2 separate regions of the Homo sapiens genome follow, and region 2 is linked to region 1. Evidence: promoter capture Hi-C in 16 types of primary human blood cells and fetal thymus (Javierre and others, 2016). All regions are on one chromosome and are shown on one strand. Each heading gives the region's core, a stretch centred on a gene start or on the middle of the fragment in contact. The rest is flanking DNA. Distances are from core to core; before and after follow the strand shown. Region 1 holds the start of SLK (STE20 like kinase). Region 2 overlaps SLK (STE20 like kinase).

What was found. Contacts are between HindIII fragments. The CHiCAGO score rates a contact against its expected background, and 5 or more counts as called.
Region 2: a fragment that was not itself captured here is called in contact with the fragment with the promoter of SLK in region 1 in 5 of 17 cell types (activated CD4 T cells, total CD8 T cells, endothelial precursors and 2 more); the score reaches 6.6 in activated CD4 T cells.

What each region holds. Positions count from the first base shown.
Region 1 is chr10:103,964,794-103,969,365 of GRCh38, reverse strand. SLK (STE20 like kinase) reads right to left here and starts at 2,226. Exons shown (of 19, transcript NM_014720.4): 1 at 1,471-2,226. The coding sequence starts at 1,620. It overlaps LOC102724351 (a long non-coding RNA gene), which reads left to right and starts at 2,321. Exons shown (of 5, transcript XR_007062282.1): 1 at 2,321-3,585. RefSeq lists silencers at 1,705-1,804, 1,815-1,864, 1,905-2,364. The HindIII fragment of the contact is 5,644 bases long and covers 1-4,572 here.
Region 2 is chr10:104,010,260-104,014,474 of GRCh38, reverse strand. It overlaps SLK (STE20 like kinase), which reads right to left. Exons shown (of 19, transcript NM_014720.4): 13 at 3,567-3,659. Among named protein-coding and RNA genes, the nearest start is that of MIR936, 36 kb to the left of the region's middle. The HindIII fragment of the contact is 1,752 bases long and covers 1,336-3,087 here.

The DNA.
Region 1 (4,572 bases), core at 977-3,476:
TTTTAGCCTGGATAAAGAATGAGGACTGGGGTTTTGACAAGATGCATTTGAGGCAGGGCAGAGGCAGAAGTGTAATGGTGCTTAGAAAGTAGTAGGCAGCCGGGGACGGTGGCTCACGCCTGTAATCCTAGCACTTTGGGAGGCCGAGGCGGGCGGATCACCTGAGGTCGGGAGTTCAAGACCAGCCTGACCAACATGGAGAAACCCTGTCTCTACTAAAAATACAAAATTAGCCGGGCATGGTGGCGTATGCCTGTAAACCCAGCTACTACGGGAGGCTGAGGCAGGAGAATCGCTTGAACCCGGGAGGGGGAGGTTGCAGTGAGCCGAGATCGCGCTATTGCACTCCAGCCTGGGCAAAAGGGGCGAAACTCCGTCTCAAAAAAAAAAGAAAGTAGTAGGCAAAATGCTCTCATTTCTACCAGTGACTGTTAAAATAAAAAACAATACTAAATATGGGCTCAGAAGACCTGAGTTCAAGTCTAGGCTGAGACTCATGTGACTGTGAACAATTTCAATATCTTCATCTGTGAAATGTGGATACTAATACTGACCTGCCTACCTCACAAGATTTTTGTGGGGGCCAAATTATTTGAAAGTACTTAAAAACTTCAAAGTCCTGTATAAACATAAGTTATTTTCTTACGTTTTCACTTCTAGGCAACCCTGTGGGTCCTTCCCCTAAACGCTGTCTCATAAAAAATTCGCCCTTCAGGATGAAAATACTCCAATGACATCATTCATATGTTCCTTAGGAGATATTAAATAGTTAACATTAATGCCTTCAGGTTGAAACGCCAAGCCTCTTTCTATTGAAATAAATACATGCGTGTGTGTTTTTAACTGCTTAAGCGCTGATACTGACTTCTAGTCAATGCTTACCATAAATATATTTAAAACTAGTACCACATGAAGGTTTTTTGGAAATTTTGTCAGAAATTCCATTCTATTTTATAGTATGCTGTCAAGCAACTAACTCAAGAAGAGACTGCAAGTAGCAATCACTTTGATCCCAACTAGTTCTGTATTAGCTCTAGATACAACCAAATATATATACTGGACCCTAAAAACAGAACTGTTGGAGTACAAGCATGCACGCGAATGCAGTCAGTAGACAAATCCACTGCAAAGTGCAATGAGTTTCTCATTCTAAAATACTTGAAGGGCACAACCAGACCCCTCCTATAAATTAAAGAACACTCTCATTTCCTTTGAAGTTTGAAAGAGTAGACTTTATAACCCTGTCTCCTTTTCCAATCGCTCTTTAAACTCCATCCAGGCCCCATTTTGTTCCACCGTAAACCCGACTTCTTAGCTACTCCTTGGATGATCAGCCAAGTAAAGTTGCATCGAACCGTAACAGTCAAAAGAAGGACAGGATAAGGACCAGGGGAGCAGAAGTCCTCCCGCCACTCCAGGCCAGTGGCTGTTTTACCTTCGCAGTACAACTTCCCGTTTTCCCCCTCTTACCTTGTACACTTTCCCAAAGGCTCCGTCGCCCAGTTCTCCTATAATCTCCCAAAAGTCTTCGGGGTTCAGGTCCCTCTTCACGTGTTCGTACTGCTTCTTCTTCTTCTCGCTCCCCAACTTGAAGATCTTACGGAAATTGAAGAAGGACATTTTTCCTCCCAACACAGAGTTCCTTGCACTTAAGGACTAAAAACAATAAAAGGCAAAGTTTCTCTTCCCTGCTCTCCCGCGCGAGCCCGGCTGGCGGCGGCGGGCGCGGCGTCCCTCGGCCCCCGCAGCTCCGGCCGGGCGGTCCCGGGAGAAGGCGGGGCGGCGACCCGGGCTCCGGCCCGCGGTGGGGGTGCTGCGCGAGCGGCCCCTCCGCCGAGCCCGGCCCGCGAGCCGCGCGGTGGGCGCCTCGCCTCCGGCCCACCCTCCGGGAGCGGCACCTGCCCGCAAGCTCGCTCCCACCCGGCCTGATCCGACGGGTCCGAGCGGTCAGGACTCCCGCGGCGGCGGCTTAGGCCCGTGTCACGGCGAGTCTCCAGGGGCGGCGGCCACTCTGGGAGAGAGAAGCGGCCGGCGGCCTCGGAGGCGGGCAGTCGAGAAGCCGAGCCCTCCCGCCTCGGGCCGCGAGCCTAGGGTCTCCTCCGCCGCCGTCCGCTCCCGCGGCGCAAGGCCCGCGCGTCCCCTCGGGTCTGGGGCGCCGCCGCCGCCGCCTGTCTCCCTCCCCAGCCCACACAGCCTCGGCCTGGAGCGCGCGCCGACGCCGACTCCGTAGCGCGCCCGCGCGCTTTCCCGGCTGCGCGCCCGCCCGGTCACGCGCCCTGCTCACCGCGCGCTCGCGTGGGGGCGTCCCCTCTGGCCCCGCGCACGCGCGCTACGTCCCTCAGACTGGCTGCCCCCGAGGGTTCGCGTGAGCGGAGCACGGGGCTCGGGGTGCGGGGGGCTGGTGTGATGGACGCATTTGTTCTTCGGTCCCTGACGATTGTTTCTCATTTGCCCTCCAAGCCCCAAATCCTGTCAGTCCACGGCCTTGATGGAGCGGCCCCCGTGGGACGACCCTGTTGATTGTGCTAGCGGATGTTGTCTCCATTCTGGATCTGGGAAAAACTGTGGAGTGAAAGCCGGACCTGTTAGGGTTGGGACCTGAAAGCGGACTTTTTCGCTCTCAGACGGGCCCCAGGTACAGTGAGAGGGGAGTTTGTGTGGTGGTTGTGAGCTTGAGCTTTGGAGAGAGAGATCTGTGACCTTGGGCAGGTGACCTCTCCGAGCCTCGGTTTCCTCGCCGTAAAATGAAGATCCTAATAGTCCCTACCAGAAGGTTGTGAATGAGACAATAGATGGAAGCCCTTTGCGCGGCCCCTGCACCCGTAAACGCTCAATCTTAGTTCTTACTCTTGTTGTTTTAAGTGTGCAGGCAAGATAGACACAGATACATAAAAACTGTTTAAGACCACTTCTCTTTTTTTTCTTTCTTTCTTTTTTTTTTTTTTTTTTTTTTTTTGAGACGGAGTCTCGATCTGTCGCCCAGGCTGGAGTGCAGTGGCGCGAACTAGGCTCACCGCAAGCTCCGCCTCCCGGCTTCACGCTATTCTCCTGCCTCAGCCTCCCGAGTAGCTGGGACTACAGGCGCCCGCCACCACGCCCCGCTAATTTTTTTGTATTTTTAGTAGAGACGGGGTTTCACCGTGTTAGCCAGGATGGTCTCGATCTCCTGACCTCGTGATCCGCCCGCCTCGGCCTCCCAAAGTACTGGCGTGAGCCACCGCGCCGGGCCCCCACTTCTCAACTGATGACTGCGACACTCCCTTGAGGGTAAAACTAACTTCTGGCCACCTCCACAACTGTAAACCTGGTGTCACTCTTGGTGACTCCACCTCAGCTAAGGCCCCCACTTCCTGATCTGCCTCCAGCCCCCTTGGGCAGCACTCCCTGGTGGGGCAGTGTGGACGTTGGCTGGAATCCGTCAGGTGGTGACCTACCTTCCCCTCCTCCACCAGACGGGAGCTCTTTCAGGCCAGTGGTTTGTTGTTCATCAAGATATCCAAGTACCCGGCAACATTCCTGGCATATAATAGGAAGGCAGATCTGGTGAATGAATGAATGAATGGCGGTATCTGGAGCAGAGACAATGTATGTATATATTGCTATTTATATAATGTCTGCCCCCCCAGTCATTTTGCCCTTCAGCCCCAAAATGGCATAGCAAAACCCCCCTTCCAGTAAGACGCTTAAGATGATTCAATTCCTTGAGATCCTTCTATTTTTTTAAGTGTTATTGCAATATATTGATATACAATAAACTGTACATATTTAAAGTGTGCATTTGGTTTTTTTGCTAGTACTTGTTTGCTTTTTTTTAAAATTATACTTTAAGTTCTGGGATACACATGCAGAACGTGCAGGTTTGTTACATAGGTATACACGTGCCATGGTGGTTTGCTGCAAGTGTGCACTTTTATATGTTTTGACAAATGTATAGACCTGTGAAAACAATACTATAATTATTTGTAATTATTATCATTTATGGAGAAAATGAAATGCTTAAAAAATAAAATTAAATTAAAAGTACTATAATTCTACTATCCAGACACAACCATTGATAAGAACTTATATTTCAAAACAGGATTTTTTTGGTTGTGCATTAACTTTTTTCAACATGGTTGAGGTTGTATTACATAAAAAGGTTTGCATCCTGCACTTCGCATATTTCAATACAATTAATAATTGTTCTCTTCCATTATGAGATATTTAGATTATAATTCCTCTGTTTTTAATAAAATACGGATAAATATCTTTGTACACAAATCTTTTTCCACATATTTGATTATTTCCTTAGGATAAATTGCCAAAAGTAGATTTCGGTCAATGGGTATATGTCTGTTTCCTTATTTTGTTCTTTTCAAAATAGAAAAGACTTTACTATTTTGTCAATTAAAAGATAGTGTATTACTGGCTGGGTGGGGTGGCTCACACCTATAATCCCAGGCTGAGGTGGGAGGATTTCTTGAGCCCAGGAATTTGAGACCAGACTGGGCAACATGGCGAGATCACATCTACCAAAAATTAAAAACAGAAAAATTAGCTGGGCATGGTGGCACTCACCTGTGGTCTCAGCTA
Region 2 (4,215 bases), core at 962-3,461, 45 kb before region 1:
AGGGGTTGAAATCAAGCTGTATTCTATCTACTCCTGTTGTATATATCAGACGTCACAAACAAAAATTACAGTGTTAAATGAGCTAGTTATTTCCCTATAGAAACTGCAAGAAAGAATACAGCTTGGAATTTCCAACTTAACTTAAAACTACAATAAGGAGAATAGAAACTCACTATTCATTATTGACTACTTGAATAAATGGAAAATAGAGTTAAACGGAATGAAAATCACTACTTTTAACATGGCTTTTCTGACCATATCCATAATTAAAACATCTACATAAACATATATGCAATCAAAATGTCACTTCACACGAAAATAAAAATCTAATCACAGCATTCAATTTCTCACATGTGCAAAGCTTATACTATTGAGAGGGTATTTTATTTTCTTGAGAAACATGAAAATCCCAAATTAGAATTTGTGGCGGGGTAGACAGAACACCGTGTTAAAAGTGCTCTAGTTCCAGCTCTACCGTTAATCTCTTATGTGACTTGAGGCAGATCACAGTCTTCTGTGCCTCAATTTCTTCATCTGTAAAATGGTTATATGACTCCATCCCTATATTAGGGTGGTGGCAATGAGAACCAAATGTGAAAACTCTGAAGAATACTGAAGTCTAAAGTCAGGTTATCACTATTATTGTCATTACAAACATTATCATGTATCAATCATCTAGATTTTGGCAAATGAAGCCAACAATGAAAAGGCACATGTGAAAAGGCAGGTAAAACAGGAGAAGCCATCCTCCCACAGGCACGTGGGACTTACGTCCTGCATTTGGGCGTTGAAGACTGCACAAGATGACAACTGAAAAGACTGAATCATGATCTGAGCAACACCCTGTGGATCAGAATAGAATGCACCTCCCAGGTGAGAATATATCTGAATGACTTTTTGTAAACGAAAAGAATAATTATACAAATGTTGAGTTTCTTGAGGCCTGGAACAAGTCACTTAACAGATGGACCTCTTTCTCATCTGTAAAATGAAGGATTTGAACTAGATCAGTGGTTTCCAAACTCTAGTGTGTTGCTGTTGTTTTTTAAGCTAGTAGAACCCCCTTTTTTAAAATTCACCCCCAAAAATCCCAGTTTATAAACCACAGCAAAAGTGGTGTTGCTTGAGTTGAAGCAGAAGCAGGGGCTCACAGCCCAGAGTTCTTGCCGTCTTAGGGACTCCCATAGTTGCTTCTTTCAAAGTCAAAATTCCTGTTAGTATAGTTTGAAAACCACTGGACTTAAATGATCAAATATGTTCTAGCTCCATGACTGTATGACCATTACTTATGAATTCTCAAAAAAAGTTTGAAATAGACTGTAAAGTTATAAAGCTTTTGTACCTTCGCTTAAAGCAGTAGATAGAAATACTTTTAATATTTGTTAGATTACTAAATTCCTCATTAGATTTACTGAAGGAATTTATGATTACTTTCAGCTCTACTCAGAAAATACTGGCCTGTTACCAAAATTATATGAAAAATCACCAACAAAGTCTTATTAAAACATAGTATTACCTAATTCATTCAACATTAATTCTCAGTTTTGACTTTAGAATTTGATACATGGCCTTTTGGAATTAATAAAAATCTATATTCCTTTATAAGGCAAAAACCATATTATTCTAATCTGGTTTGAAATCCAAATTAACCAAAAGTACATGTGTGGCCAGCAAGGACTTCCTCTTCACTTGGTAACAAGACATGGCCAAGAACCACTGAGTCAAGCTGACGAGAGTTTAAGTTGCAGCACAAGTAGGTAGCTTAAATATGAGAGGCAGCATGGTGCAGCGAATCAGTGTGTGAAACATGTACCCAAACTTATCTGGATGAGAATCCTGGCTCTACCACTACCCAGGTGTGTGACCTTGGGAGGGTCACTCAGCCTTCCTGTGCTTGAGTTCCCTCAACTGTAAACTGGGGGTAATAAGACTACCTCAAGGATAATTAACTCAGATTAAATAAGTTCATACACATAAAGCATTTAGAACAATGCCTGACATATAGTAAATGCTGCGTTTGCTATTAACCACCTTAAACTAGGAATACCCACACCAGGCCAAGAAAAAATGTTTCAATGGCTCATAGCAAGAAAAAAACAAAAGCAAACTAAATTTATTCAGACAAGCTAGTTTTATTTAATTTTTAAATTCTAAGATTATATTTTCCTTATTTTTCATGGTGTTAAAAATATTCTCTCCTTTGAAATGATGGTGACAAGTAAATGGCAGTTTTAAAATATCTTTACTTAGCAAAATTTAAAAAAAAATTTTTTTAATGGCAGCCCATGTCATGGTCCCCAGTGGTTTTTATTGTTTCTATGTTTCTTTTTATGGGTCTATAAAATCCACAAGTCTGGGAACCACTTGTTAAATCACATAAAACAACAAATTAAAAAGATAATTCAAAGGATCGATTAAATACACGATCCACATCTCTTCTTCCTTTCACTGACTTATGTAATGGAAAATTGAGCTCATTTATCCTTGCCTCCAGGCTTAGCATAAATTTAATCAGAAGATTCATCTTCCTTCATATGAAAGACTTGTCATGTGAGATAATTCTAGAAAATTCTGTTACAAATACTAATTTATCTCACTTCGTAAAGAATTCACCAAGCCGGTGGTGGTGGCTCACGCCTGTAATCCTAGCACTTTGGGAGGCTGAGGCGGGCAGATCACGAGGTCAAGAGATCGAGACCATCCTGACCAACATGGTGAAACCCCATCTCTACTAAAAATACAAAATATTAGCTGGGCGTGGTGGTGCATGCCTGTAGTCCCAGCTACTCGGGAGGCTGAGGCAGGAGAATCGCTTGAACCCAGGAGGCGGAGGCTGCAGTGAGCCGAGATCACACCACTGCACTCCAGCCTGGAGACAGAGCGAGACTCCAATTCACCAAAAAAAAAAAAAAGAATTCACCCATCTTATGACAAGGCTTAACTTTATCATAACCTAGATTGGGTTGCTTTAAACTCTATATAGGTAAAAATAGTCTATTTGTTTAACTGCTGGATTGTGAACCAAAAAGAAAAACAAGGTACTTAATATTTAAAATCCAGTTTTAAAGTTGCTTATGTTGTCAAGCTTAAAAGCAATACATGTTTGAACTACCATTTAAAGTTACCATTTGCTATTTTTCTTCTAACTGCACTTTATAGAAATAATAGCGTTTTAATGGGCATACTTTTTGTAAGCACAAAGCTTATATACCATCCTCTATTTTTATGTCCTAAAAGTTTTCTAACAAACATTGGCATTACTACTTAAAACTATAAGCTCCCATCAAGATTAAAATCAGATAACAGTGGATTATACATTCATATACTTGTTTATTTCATCTGGAGTCAACTTTCCAAACATTCCACTTAACTTCATATTAGCAACTTAAATGTCACCATTAGTAGGAATTTAGTATTAAATAAAGAAGATTCCAGGAGTTTTTGAATGGGGAGAAGTCAACATCATATAATAATAACACTTAAAATTTACCCTTTCAACCATGGTTTATCAAGCTGTGAGAAAATGGTGCTTTCTGGTTTTAGTAGCATTAAGCTGCTGCTGTTACCTGAGCATGCTGGCTTTGTGCAAGCTCCTCTTTCCTGCGTTTCATGAGCTCTTTTCTCAGCTCTTTGGGTGCTTTCTCCACTTCATTTATAACCTACAGTGTATAAGCATGCAGGAGGTGGGGAAATGATACTTTCTCCACAGCAAGCATTTATGAGAGCAGATAAGCTACAAGTCAAATATTAAAGTTGTTAAAAAGTTCCTTTCAACATGCATTAGCATAGGTGTTAGTCTGGTGAAAAAGAATGAAAGAAGAGAACATGCATAATCTCAGTGCAGAAAGGGACATTACACCACACAAAGGTTAATTAGTTGCTTAATAACCCTATGTATCATTCTCTTTCTTAAAGGTCCAAAGACAACCAGCGAAGAATTACTTGCAGCACTGATGCTGAACTACAGGTGATAAACTCAACTGACCTTGTTGAAAGATCATAAAATTATAAACGTATCTATTGACATAGTTGGAAATATTGAACATAAGGAAAGCTAATGCCATTTATAAAAGTGCAAAATTTCATAATTGGCTTGATCATACTAAAGAAATAATGCTAAATAAAATCTACTTAATGAGGCCAAAAACAAAAAAGGAAAGCAAGTCTTAGAATACACAAAGGAGAAATAAATGGATACTAAGTTTTTTCATAAAC